Linked DNA regions of Homo sapiens: all the other regions are linked to region 3. The links are contacts of gene promoters, found by promoter capture Hi-C in blood cells and fetal thymus (Javierre and others, 2016). All regions are on one chromosome and are shown on one strand. The core of a region is centred on a gene start or on the middle of the fragment in contact, and the rest is flanking DNA. Distances in the headings are between cores, read along the strand shown.

The links. The method cuts DNA at HindIII sites, captures the fragments that hold promoters and counts their contacts. A CHiCAGO score of 5 or more calls a contact.
Region 1: a fragment that was not itself captured here is called in contact with the fragment with the promoter of TAF2 in region 3 in 1 of 17 cell types (monocytes); the score reaches 5.5 in monocytes.
Region 2: a fragment that was not itself captured here is called in contact with the fragment with the promoter of TAF2 in region 3 in 1 of 17 cell types (neutrophils); the score reaches 6.3 in neutrophils.
Region 4: a contact is called between a fragment that was not itself captured here and the fragment with the promoter of TAF2 in region 3, in 1 of 17 cell types (neutrophils). The highest score is 8.0, in neutrophils.

The regions. Positions count from the first base shown.
Region 1 is chr8:120,112,579-120,115,669 of GRCh38, reverse strand. No RefSeq gene overlaps it. Among named protein-coding and RNA genes, the nearest start is that of COL14A1, 11 kb to the left of the region's middle. The HindIII fragment of the contact is 605 bases long and covers 1,534-2,138 here.
Region 2 is chr8:119,426,658-119,430,076 of GRCh38, reverse strand. No RefSeq gene overlaps it. Among named protein-coding and RNA genes, the nearest start is that of CCN3, 12 kb to the right of the region's middle. The HindIII fragment of the contact is 1,682 bases long and covers 842-2,523 here.
Region 3 is chr8:119,830,967-119,834,272 of GRCh38, reverse strand. TAF2 (TATA-box binding protein associated factor 2) reads left to right here and starts at 1,432. Exons shown (of 26, transcript NM_003184.4): 1 at 1,432-1,791; 2 at 2,542-2,596. The coding sequence starts at 1,709. DSCC1 (DNA replication and sister chromatid cohesion 1) reads left to right here. Exons shown (of 9, transcript NM_024094.3): 9 at 1-297. It overlaps LOC105375728 (a long non-coding RNA gene), which reads right to left and starts at 1,394. Exons shown (of 4, transcript XR_928590.3): 1 at 1,197-1,394. RefSeq lists enhancers at 1,311-1,670, 1,731-1,780. The HindIII fragment of the contact is 3,868 bases long and covers 1-1,506 here.
Region 4 is chr8:119,447,262-119,450,507 of GRCh38, reverse strand. No RefSeq gene overlaps it. Among named protein-coding and RNA genes, the nearest start is that of CCN3, 32 kb to the right of the region's middle. The HindIII fragment of the contact is 8,788 bases long and covers 1-3,246 here.

The DNA of each region.
Region 1 (3,091 bases), core at 587-3,086, 280 kb before region 3:
GGACTTCAAAATCAGCACTCCTTATGCATATGGCCTCTTAATCCTCTATTGTCAGTAGCACGCCTGTTCTCTTCACTGCATGGGTTCACTCTCAGGCTCAAAACTCCACGTTTTTCCATCTCCAAACAATAAACCTGTTTTGTACCAATATACAGGAGTGTAGCATTAAGGAGAGGGACTAGAAATTTGCCCTCTTAAACATCTTCCACCCAATCCTTCTTATTTTAGCACCAACTCTTTTTATCCCATGGCTCTGGGCTGAATATTTCTGTCCTCCCAAAATTCATAGGTTGAAGCCCAAACCCCCAATAAGATGGTATTTGGAAGTAGTGCCTGTGGGAAGTAATGAGGCCATGAGGGTCATGAGGTCATGAGGGTCGAGCGCCCCTGATGAGACTCATGCCCTTACCAGAAGAGTAGACCAGCTAAGAAGCATCTCTAGGGGGTCTATAAAGTGGTACTATTACACTCTTTATTTGCAGAAGAGGGAACTAGGGTGGAGAGAGGAGATTACCAAGATTACTATGGAGTCTGTAAATGGAAGTGAGAATTCAAATGTCACCAAAGCTAATATCCTTAACACTATGCTGATCTATTTTCCCATTCACATTCTTTTAATCAACTTAATTTCATGTTGCCTATTTTTTCTCTTTTAAGGAAAATTACTTGACTATTCTGAAGAAGCCACAATAATAACACACACCCCCAAAAAACAGTAAAAACTGATGACAAGGATGAAGCATTGTTACCTGTTACCTGTTGCCTATTGGTCAAGCCAATATGTTGCTAAAGGAAAAGAAAGAAGTGGTGATTGCATTGTACATCGAGCCTAAAGCTACGTCTCAGATTATTTCCTGCTATTCAGGCTGTTGCTTCCATATACAGCATAGTCCATAGATTCACCAAGGCTAGCCTCAGGCCTCTGGTGAGACTTCCTCCAAGAACCTACACCCCAGAAAAAAATTTTGGATAACATATAACCACCAAGATATATCCACTGAGACTACAAAGAAATTTAAAATATTAATAGGAGCAAAACTTTAAACCAAAGGAAAGACATCCTAAGGCAGCATTTCAAGAATCAGCCTTGGGAAGATTGAAGAGGGCCAGAAAGTCCTCTCTGAGGACATTTTAGATTTTCCAGAGAAATGAGAAGCACACAGAGCTAGAAATAAAGAGAAAACCACAGAGATCTCTTCTTTTAGAGAATTGAGAGAGCAGAGAGACAGAGAACGCATGAGATAGAAAATCTCATATGGGTCTAGGTTTTGGAAAATTCTGTTCATTATGCTGTGGTGAAGTGTTCTGCGAAATTTGTTATTTGTTTTGTTTTCAGCTGTTATTCATGTAAGTTGTGGTTCAAGTTAGTATCTCTTCTGATCTGTGCCCTTTGACGTGTTAATTAATTGATGAAACTTTTGTTCTCAAACTTTTTACTATTTCAATCCAAAACCTTCAGATTTGTCTGAAAATTCACCATGGGCCACTAGACTGAGAATTTCTCTACCCTGTAATAGCCTCAGTACAGAAGCTTAGAGGAAACCAAGCTGAGCACTGAAATCAGTTGGCAGTGCCCTGCTCCCTCTGTGACTGTATTCACTTAAAGTTGTCCAGATTATGTTCTCAGGATCAATGACCATTTTATCTGTGTCCCTAGCACCTGGCTTAGCATATATTATCAATCCAAAACATGTTCTCTGAATGAATGAACAAAAGCAAGAATGAATGAGCAAACCACCATATTCCAGCAGAGCACCATGATGGTTTCGAGCTTGTGTTCGTCTCCAGGCTTTGCCCTCATGAGTTGGGTGACATTAACTAAGTTATTCAAGATATGCCTTCTCATTAACTTATGCCACAGATATTACTGCTGGGCTCTGAGTATGCATGGGGTGAGCAAAACAAGTCCGTTGGCCTTGTGGAGTCTAGAGTCCAGCTACACAAACACACACTGACAAAACATGAAGTGCTCTGATGGTAGCGGGCTGAGGGGCAAGAGTGCAGGTATTATGCAACTTATTCAGGTAGAATGATCAAGAAGTACATAGGTGAGGAGGTGACCTTTAGGCTGACAAAAAGAGAGACAGCCAGCCTTGAGAAGATATGAAACAAAAGCATTCTGAAAAGAAAGAAAAGCTTTTATTAAGTCCTTGGGTTTTCAACCAAACAATTGAAAAAAAGAACAAGAAAACAAAGTCATCGGGCAAGAGAGAGCTTGCATAGGCCCAAATTATTTTGAATGAGCAGAGTTTGGTGAAATCAGAGGAGAGACTTAAGACCAGGTGGAGTGGCTCAGAGCCTTTGTAATCCCAAGACTTTGGGAGGATCACTTGAGCCCAGGAGTTGGGAACCAGCCTGGGAATAAGACCTTATCTCTACAAAATAATAATAATAATAATAATAATAATAATAATTAAAAATTAGCCAGGCATGATGACACGTGCCTATAGTCCTAGGTACTCTGGAGGCTGAGATGGGAGGATCGCTTGAGCCTGGGAGGCACAGGTTGCAGTGAGCCCAGATCACGCCACCACAGTCCAGCCTGGGTGACAGAGCAAGACCCTGTCTCTAAATAAATAAATAAATAAATAAATAAATAAATAAATAAAGATGGGTGATGTGAGACACAAGAGGTGAACAAGGATCAGACCTTGGACAACCTTGTATGCCAAGGTAAGTATTTTGACTATATCTTGGCAATGGAAAGTTTTAAGTAAATGAGGGAAATGAGCAACCCAGAGTGTCTTATTTAGCTGACCAGGAGCAGGGGCAGACATGGGTATTTTATCAGAATCTTCTCAGTGATTCTAGCACACAGCCAAGGTTGAGATCAACAGTCTGTATATTCCTGCAGGAGCAAACCCACTTTACTTACATCCTTCACCTGCTCTGATCCTCCCAGTGGTGGCTCCTTTAAACAGAATAAGGTGTAAATATATTAGCTTAGTAATCAAGTTCCTCCGTGTCTGCCTTAGCCTAACTTTCCTATCTTATGTCCACTCAACCTCCTGGACAAACTTTATAATGTAGATTAAGGATGTGAGTTCTGAAGTCAGAGCCAGACATGTTACTTTATCCACATTGTAGCATG
Region 2 (3,419 bases), core at 433-2,932, 400 kb after region 3:
TAGGGATCTTCTCTGGAATTTGGGAGGCACCAACCATGGGGCTCAGTTCTAAGGAGTCCAATCCTATGAGCATAAAGTGGTAAGCAGAAAAGGAAAGGCAAACAAACAAACAAACAAACAAATCTAGATAATTTAGTCCGGGGAATCAGGGTTTAAAGAAAAACTCATACAACCCACCAGACTATAAGCTTTAGGAGGGCAAGGACTGTAGTTGCCTTGTTCACTGCTTTATTCCCAGTTCCAGCAAATGACTTGGAGTATGGTAGATGATCACTACGTTTTTGTTGACTTGATCAATTACTTAATTAATCCAGAAAAGAAAGACCACTACCTTAATTTCAGGGGCCAGTGAAAAGCTCAGGACCATATTCCTAACAGTTCTTGGTCACAAAATTGTTGGCCAAAATCAACTGTTTTCCTTGGCAAAGATCTGCATATGGCCCCCATGCATCCTGTCGGGGAAGTTCCTCAGGTGGTGACCAATATCCAGGCACAAATCCTTTACAGCTTATTAGCTGGTCATTCATTCATTCATTCTTTCAAGTTTCTTGTGCAACAATTACTTGTTTCTCCAAATGGAGTACATGAAACCCAGAATATAGGCAATAAGGCAGAGTAAATATACACATTTTGGATTCAGAATGTGAGGATTCATATTCTGGCTTTACCACATAATAGGTTTATGATGCCATGCAAGCTATTTTTCTTTCTAAAGCTTCATTTTCCTCATCTGTAATTTTGAGATAAAATAGTACTGACCTCAAAGGACTGTTATAAGAATTAAAGGAAATAAAGTAATCTACGTAAAGCACTTTGCATAGTGTCTAGAACCTAATAAGCTTGATAAATGTCAGTTTTTTCCTCTTCCTCCACTTCCTCCTTTTTCATTTTTTCCCTAAATTTCATATATTCTAAAATAAACATTAGATTTTTTTTTTCATTTCTGAAAGTGATATGAGTGTTCCAATTGATGATGTGTCCTGAGCCAATTGACAGAATTTTAAAATTTCTTTTTGATATGTACATTAATAGTATACCTTACAATTGATGGCACCTAAATTGAGATAGAATTTGGAATCTTTTTTATTATTACTGCTAATTTGACTACATGAAATATGCAAGAAGATGCAAGAGGTCTCAGTGTAAACATGGTTCATTTTTCTGGAGCATCAATTTTACTTGAAGATTAAGGAGAAGTCAAAAAGTACTTGCATTTTTAGGAGAAAATGTGAGAAGCTATAGAAATTTTGGCCTGAAATGTTGGGTTTTTGCTGCTAGATGGTTAGATAATAAGTGTTCAGTCTGTTCAGCTGTTTGGAATACTGTGCTGAACAACCTTGAGAATCACTGTGTAAAACAGCCGTGAGAAAACCAGACAAGGTCCTTGCTCTCATGGAGCTTAGGGTTTCGTGGGAAACACACATACAAACAAGTAACAGAGATGGTGTTTCAGCTGCTATGATAGTAATTGTTACAAAGAGCAGTTGGGCACAAAAGAGGTTGGGTCAGGCTCATTGTAGTCAAAAGAGTGCTGGTGAAGAAGGCTTCTTAGAGAAGGTGAACTTAGAGTGGATTCTTGAACCATGAAATGGAATTTAGGGAGATAACATGGTACACTTAACAGGATCCTTATGGTCTTTATTCTCTTTTCTGGGGGCTATGATTTTCTACAAATTATTGGGGAAGATTCTCACTGCTCAACTTTCAGAGGAGCTAGAATGCCCACTTACTAGCATCTCCTGTATCAAAGTCCTCCCAGGATCTTCTAAGTGGCCTTGCTTCAGCAGGACAAACTTGGGTCAGCTTGGAGCATACTGACCCATATTTAACCCAAGCTAAGAACTTTATAACTTCTTCCAAACTTCTGATTCTATGCTACAAGCAGAGTCTGGTTCTCAGATTTTGCTAATAAAATGTAAGTCCAAGCCACATTTTCTGCTTGGATTATAAAATATTTGTTGCCAATTTCCTTCCAGTAGGACCTGTGGGCTGTTCATTCTGTGAAACCTTGTCATTTGAATGGAATTGTATACTGGGCTGAAATTCAGACCATTTTTTTTGTCCTAAGGAGAAAGACACACATTCTTTAGGAAGACTGGTACAACATTGCCATCTTTACCCTTTGCACCTCCTGATTATCCCCAGAACAGCTGGCTTAATGTAACAGTAATTCACGGTCCTCAGCTGGAAGGCTGCAGATAATCCTTCATTATTCAGAGTTCAGCAAGTGCCAGCGGTGTTATTGAAGTAGTAATTGAATTTTGTGAACCCTCTGTGGTCCAGACAGCATAAGAATGCCTGCAAGAACTGTGCAGTGTGGTTAAGATGAATACATTTCCAACAATATTGGATTGTCAAACTAAGCCCTATAGCCCATAGCCAAAAGGACATACTGTTTTGATGATTTGACTTGTGATGTTGAACATTTTGGAGTGAAACCCATTTGGAAGGATGACAACATGTACCTACAAGGAAGACATTGTGAGAGAAATCTAGTACTGCCCAGAAATCTCCACCAAAGCTTCACTGATAATCTCATCAAGTACAGATATGTATGTAACAAATTAGCTCTTTGTATAGTTAAAGATGTTCTTACCTCATTGTTGAATTGAATCTTTGTGTGGAAAAAGAAAAGAAAAATCCCCAAATAATTTTCAATGAAATGTGAGTTATCACTACACCAGCAATTAAGTGCTTTCAAAATGTGACATTCATAGAATGATCTCAACAGTCTCAATACTTTGCAATGCTGTTACTAAAAGAGAACATTTATAGTTTGGGAAAATAGCACAAAAATGAAACTGTTGGAATTGTTTTGGTTGCTGAAAATATACTTGGCCTCAGTGTCTGTGGCACTGTGTAAAGGAAAGAGCTTTGGCTCTGAGCTCAGACAGACCCTGAGTTTGAATCCTAGCTCCTTCATTTACTGTGTCCTTAATAGGTCATTAACTTCTTTGAGTTTCTTCATCTTTCCATGTAAAAATAAGGTCAATAATGTCTACCTTTGAACATTAAATGTGTAGAATAAGGGGCAATGCTTGGCTCTACTAAACACTTATATCAGCAGCTGCCATTTGCAGACCTACTATGTGCCAGGCACAGTCAAGCGCTTATGAATATATATTGTAATACTATGAGGTTGATATTTAGGGTGACCAACTTCTCCCAGTTTGCCTGGGACTGTCCTGATTTTATAACTGAAAAGTCCTGACTCCTAAAACGAGATAAACTGGAGCAGTCGGTCACCCTATCCATACATGGTCTCATCTTACAGATGTGAAAATTGAGCTCCAGAGACTGTGCAGAGAGCCCAGTATCCCATAGCTGGGAAAGAGTAGGCCTGGCATTCAGACCCAGGCTTGGATAATTCTCAAGCCTGTGCTCTTTCTGCAGCCCTAAACTCTGCTCAGTCAATGTTT
Region 3 (3,306 bases), core at 183-2,682:
GTAATTTCTAGTTGGTTTTGGAATGCTTGATAAAGTTCCTTTACAGCTTTATTTTCCTGATTTGTTTTGGTTTAGATCAAAGTTCAAATTAATTTTAACTTAGCTAATGAACTCATCACCAGGACAGTTGGAGGGGGTAGGCCGAGGTTAAATGGTCCACGTTTCAAAAATGTTAATGGCTAATCCATAATTAAAGAAGGTTTAACTGTTACTGAAGTTTACAAGTTTTATTGTCATGAACATGAAATACAAACACGATGGCTTCGAAATGTCTTTCAATAAATGTTTCTGCATTTATATGGATTATATGATATATATACACAGTCTATATATCTCTATGTAGTCTATTTATTTATTTTGAGAGGGAGTCTCGCTTTGTCTCCCAGACTGGAGTGCAATGGCATGATCTCAGCTCACTGCAAACTCGGCTTCCCGAGTTCAGGTGATTCTGGTGCCTCACCCTCCCGAGTGGCTGGGAATACAGGCGCACGCCACGACGCAGGGCTAATTTTTGTATTTTTACTAGAGACGGGCTTTCACCATGTTGGCCAGGCTGGTCTTGAACTGCTGACCTCAAGTGATATGACTGCCTCAGTTTCCCTAAGTGCTAGGATTACAGGCGTGAGCCACCACGCCTGGCCTGTAGTCTATATTTTATTCTTTTTTTTTTTTTCTGAGACAGTCTCAGCTCTGTCGCCCAGGCTGGAGTGCAGTGGAACGATCTCAGCTCGCTGCAACTTCCGTCTCCCAGGTTCAAGCAATTCTCCTGCCCCAGCCTCCCAAGTAGCTGGGATTACAGGCGTGCACCACCACGCCCAGCTAATTTTGTGTAATTTTTAGTAGAGACGGGGTTTCACCATGTTGGTCAGGCTGGTCTCGAACTCCTGACCTCAAATGATCGGCCCGCCTCGGCCTCCCAAAGTGTTGGGATTACAGGAGTGAGCCACTGCGCCCGGCCTTGTAATCTATATTTTAAAATAAATACTAAGGCAGCAGTGCCTAGTGAGAGCTGTGGAGTGCTGCAGTTTTGACATTTAGACTACCTGCAGTCTAATCACATATTTTACAGCTTAAATCACCGGACCCAGTGTGTCTGTTCACACAGCAAGCCAGAGGCACGCACCTCCTGATTTCGGGAGACTTCCCACCACCCCACCCCGCCCAGTTACTAGCACCCTGCCCCAGCCTATTTATACCTGGCTCTTCGCAAACTTTGTCCTCCATTCTTCTCAATATGCTTGTACTAGAAAACTACCTTCCCTCCTTTTCTTCCTGCTGTTCTCGCTTCATCCATTAAATAGTTTTTTCCCTATCCTAAATTTTAACAATTCTTTACGATAAGACACATGCGAAGATCGCAAGCCCTGCCCATTGACAAGACTTCCTGGTTCTACCCCCGCCGCCGTTCCACTTCCGCTGACGTCGGAGGTCAGAGGTTACAGACAAGATGTCGGCGGATGGTAGCTTCGAGCCCTTGCGGAGAGGAGCATCTCTGTGACAGAAGCTTGTCGACGGCGGCTTCTAGGAGCTAGTCGAAGGAGCGAGGTTGAGGCGGGCAGCGACCCGTCAGGTCGCTCACCTGGGCACCGGCCAGCTGCGAGACGTGACTTGGGGACCGCAGGGGAGTGGAGAGTGTGAGGTGCCAAAGACTAGTAATGCCCCGTATCCCCCTAGGAAGCCGGGAAGCCAAGCTCCGCGGGACCGCTTCATGCCGCTGACTGGTGTAGAGCCCGCCAGAATGAACAGGAAGAAAGGAGACAAGGGCTTTGAAAGCCCAAGGCCATATAAATTATAAGTATTTTTTCATTTCCCTTCCTTCCTTTTGGTTTTGTTGCCATTAATTATATTTTGCGATTGCTTGAAATTGACTTGGTGGGCCTGGGAAACCTAGTGGGAAACTAGAATTTACTCACTGTGATGGAAATGGTGTTTGTAAGGTAAAAATGTTTTGAATGACAGGTTATTCAGCAAATTTAATTCCCGTTGCAAGTTACTAAAGTTTTTGTCTAAGTACTAGATTGTATTTCTGTCAAATCTGTTTTCGTGACTGTTGCTAGATTTTAAAAAATTATCCCAATTGGTAGAGTGTTTTTTTTTTTTTAATTTTTTAATTTTTAAGACGGAGTCTCTCAGTCGCCCAGGCTGGAGTGCAACGGCGCGATCTCGGCTCACTGCAGCCTCCACCTGCCGGGTTCAAGCTTTTCTCCTGGCTCAGCCTCCTGAGTAGCCGGGATTACAGGCGTGTGCCACGATGCCCGGCTAACTTTTGTATTTTTAGTAGAGACTCGGTTTCACTCTGTTGGCCAGGCTGGTCTCGAACTCTTGACCTCGTGATCCGCTTGCCGTGGCCTCCCAAAGTGCTGGGATTACAGGCGTGAGCCACCGCACCAGGCCCCAATTCGTAGTTTTAAAATGAAATATTGACATGTAATTTTGAATTACTTAGAACATAGTCCTAATTTATACTTGGATAGAATTATACTTTGATTTAATAATAAAAATTATTTTTTCCTTATTTTCTTTTTATATTTATTAATATACAACCCATCAGGTCGTCTGCATCAACAACATAAATTTCCAGAGAAAATCTGTTGTGGTAAGTTTATTCTCAACAATTATAAATAGTAACAAGTCCACTATAAAGAGTAACAATCCACCCCTCACAGTACTTAGAAAGTTTGTAGTCTTCCAGATAATTGTGTTTCAAGAATAGGTAAGAATTAAAATTAGGGTCTGTATGATTACAAGTTCCATGGTCCTTCTATTAATACCTATTGCCTCCCAAATTCTCCCTTTCCTTTTTTTTCAATTTCCTAATTAAAATTTTATTCCTCTTTATCTGGTGTATAATATGAAAGCCTGTATAGCCAAGCATTTTATAATTGTGCATGAAACAAGTATAAGCCCATAGCGACATTTCTTCTATGAAAAAAATTAAGATTAATACACTCACTGACTTGGCTTCTAAGAGGCCATTTTTGCTTCTTGACTGACTTGGTTTAGGTGATGTTGCTTTGTAATGAAGTTTTAGATAGAGTATTTGAGATCTAGAAACCCTCTACCTCCCCCTGCCTCCCGACACAATTTAGATGTATGGATTGCTGATATAATCAATTTTAGGAAAAAGCTTGAACATTCAAGTTTTTTGTTTGTTTGTTTGTTTTTGGAGACAGAGTCTCGCTCTGTCACTGAGGCTGGAGTGCAGTGCTGTGATCTTGGCTCACTGCAACCTCCACCTCCTGGGTTCAAGCAGTTGTCCTACCTCAGCCTCCCAAGTAGCTTGAATTACAGGTGTGCATGACCACG
Region 4 (3,246 bases), core at 500-2,999, 380 kb after region 3:
GGAGTTTGAGACCAGCCTGGCCAACATGGCGAAACCATGGTTTTTTTTTTGTAAAATGTTGTAAAAATACAAAAATTAGCCAGGCATGGTAGTGCATGCCTGTAGTCCCAGATACTTGGGAGGCTGAGGCAGAAGAATTGCGTGAACCTGGGAGGTGGAGGTTGCAGTGAGCCAAGATCTTGCCACTGCACTCCAGCCCGGGTGACAGAGCGAGACTGTCTAGAAAAAAAAAAAAAAAAAGAAAGAAAGAAAGAAAAAAAGGCTTATTTACATTTAAGACACGATGGAAAAGCAAGACTGAATGGAAAGGGGCACAGAGATACTGGGACATTAGGATAGGGTGATGTGAAATTACTTGTTCCAGTAGAAATTTGTGGGAAGGAGGAAGTAGTCAATATGCTAAAATTCTGTAGGAGGTTCAAACAGAAAAGGGGCTTAAAGTTCGCATGCTCCACCACTGCACTCCCCAGACACTGCTGTCTCTTTAAACTAAAAGGATGATGAGCATAGCCAATTCTCTTGGCCAATTTACCAAGGGCCACTCTCTTCACTTCTTCCCTACAGGCAGAGTCTCCTGCTGGGATAGAGTCTTAAAATGCTTTTGTGGTTTTCCTTGTTAGTAGAGATGGCCATGCGATTTAAATCTGATCAAGGGGAACTACAGAAAGACCGCTAGGGAACTTTTTCTCACAGATGAAAAGGAAGAGGGCCGGGGGCCGGGTGTGGTGGCTCACGCCTGTAATCCCAGCACTTTGGTAGGCCAAGGCAGGCAGATCACAAGGTCAGGAGATGGAGACCATCCTGGCCAACATGGTGAAACCCTGTCTTTACTAAAATACAAAAAAATTAGCCAGGCATGGTGTCGCGTGCCTGTAGTCCCAGCTATTCGGGAGGCTGAGGCAGGGGAATCACTTGAACCCGGGAAGCAGAGGTTGCAGTGAGCTGAGATCATGCCACTGCACTCCCGCCTGGTGGCAGAGCAAGACTCTGTCTGAAAAAAAAAGAGAAAAGAAAAGAAAGAGAACAATGATTAAGAAGAGCCTTCTTCCTTGTCTCCTGTTCCTCCTGTTCCTCCTGTCTAAGTAGTTGTGTGAGGATGTGATCCCTGGAGATGCTCTTAAAGACATGAGGACACCATCTGAGGATGAGGGAATCAAAGAAAGGAATGAACTTACATATCTGAAGATATTATTGTGCATTAAACAAATGCTGGAGGCCACGTATCTCCTAGCTTATTATGCGAGTCAATAGAATCCAATTTGTTTGGGGAAATTTTTAGTTGAGTAGTCTGTTTCTTGCAGCCATAAGTAAGATACAACAACAAAGTAGAGAAGGGAGCATAGACTATTCTTTCAAGAAGACTTAGTGTGACTGGAAAGCAAGAAATGTGATGTAGTTTGGGTATTTGTCCCTGCCCAAATCTCATGTTAAATTGTAATCCCCAGTACTGGAGTTGGGCCCTGGTAGGAGGTGTTTGGGTCATGGGGGTAGATCCCTCACAGCTTGGTGCTGTTTTTGTGGTTCTGAGCTAGTTCTTGCAAGATCTGGTCATTTAAAAGTATGTGGCAATTTCCCCCACCCAACCCTACTTGTTCCTCTTTGGCCTCATGACATGCCTGCTTCCTGCTCACCTTCTGCCATTATACTGAAAGTTCCCTGAGGCCTCCTCAGAAGCTGAGTGATGTCAGTGTAGAGTCTGCATAACCATGAGCCAACCAAACCTCTTTTCTTTATGAATTACCCAGTGTCAGGGTTTTCTGTTTTGTTTTGATTTGTTTGTTTGTTTTTGTGACACAGTCCCACTCTATCACCCAGGCTGGAGTGCAGTGGCACCATCTCGGCTCACTGCAACCTCCACCTCCAGGTGCAAGCAATTCTCCTGCCTCAGCTTCCTGAGTAGGTGGGACTACAAGTGTGCATCACCATGTCCGGCTAAATTTTTTTTTTTGTATTTTTAGTAAAGATGGGGCTTTGCCGTGTTGGCCAGGCTGATCTCAAACTGACTTCAAGTGATCCACCCGCCTCAATCTCCCAAAGTGCTGGAATTACAGCTGTGAGCCACTGTGCCTGGCCTCCACTGATTTATTTATAGTGTTTTTTGGTACATATCTTTGTATAATTTTCTTAGTGGTTGCTCTGGATATTATAATATATATATGTGACTTATTGCAGTCAATGTATCAATACTTTATTAATTCAAGTAAAGCATGGAAACCTTACTTCCATTTCGGTTCCTTTTGCCTTTTCCACTTTTAAATATCATTGTCTTGAGTATCAGGAGGTATTATAAGTTTTGTTTCAATGATGAAATATTATTTATAGAACTCGTGAGGAGAGGAATAGATCATTGTATGTATTTATATTTCTGTCCCTCTTCTTCCCCTATTAACTGGCAGAAGTGCTAATTTATATGAATGAATTAGCTTATAGTTATGCTTATGTTAAAAATACACTCATAAAGATTTATTGGAATATGTTCCCAGTAACTCTATCCAGGATCAAAAATATTTCTGTTGAGTGGAGTTGGGGTTTTCAGTGTCCTTACCTATAAAATAAAAAGGGGTGGAACTGATATCCATTCTAACTTCTAATCATGTAGTCATTGGGCATATTTCTTCTGTGAAACAGAAATCATAGCTTTGGGGAGAAATTTATAGTAATCTTATAATACTTCAAGCTGTGAGTTCCTCCAAATTTTGACTAAGGGTTTGCTAGTTTCATTGTTCTTTATTTGGGGTAAAGTTATTCTAATGGGGAAATTTTTCCCAACATCATTATTCTCTAGATGAAAGACAGGATGATTTAAAAGTTAAAATAAAACTGAGAGCCAGTCAGCACCACTAATCCTTACTTCCATACCTCTCTTCTCTTTTCATGGCTATTTTCTCCCTTTTGCTACCTGATAGTGGGAGTGTATGAGAAGAAACTGATCTGTCATTCATTCCAAATCTTTTCAATCCAATGGGAAAATTCTGATAACTAGAGCTTTAATAGTTACTTGGTCATTCTTACCTTCTTTGGGATAACTACAATTTCAAATGAAACCCTAAATTCATACAAAGTGTCTCCTTTCCAGTTTTATTTTATAGTTAATTTTATACCCCAGCCATCTTTAGTAAATTCCAGGATTTCCCTTTCTCTCCTTCTCCCGGGTGATGGGGCATCGGGGTCTTGACCTCCAACCAGTATAATCTACCAGGTAGGGGGCATTTCCTAGTAGTTTCCATTTCCAAATTCTCTGAGAAT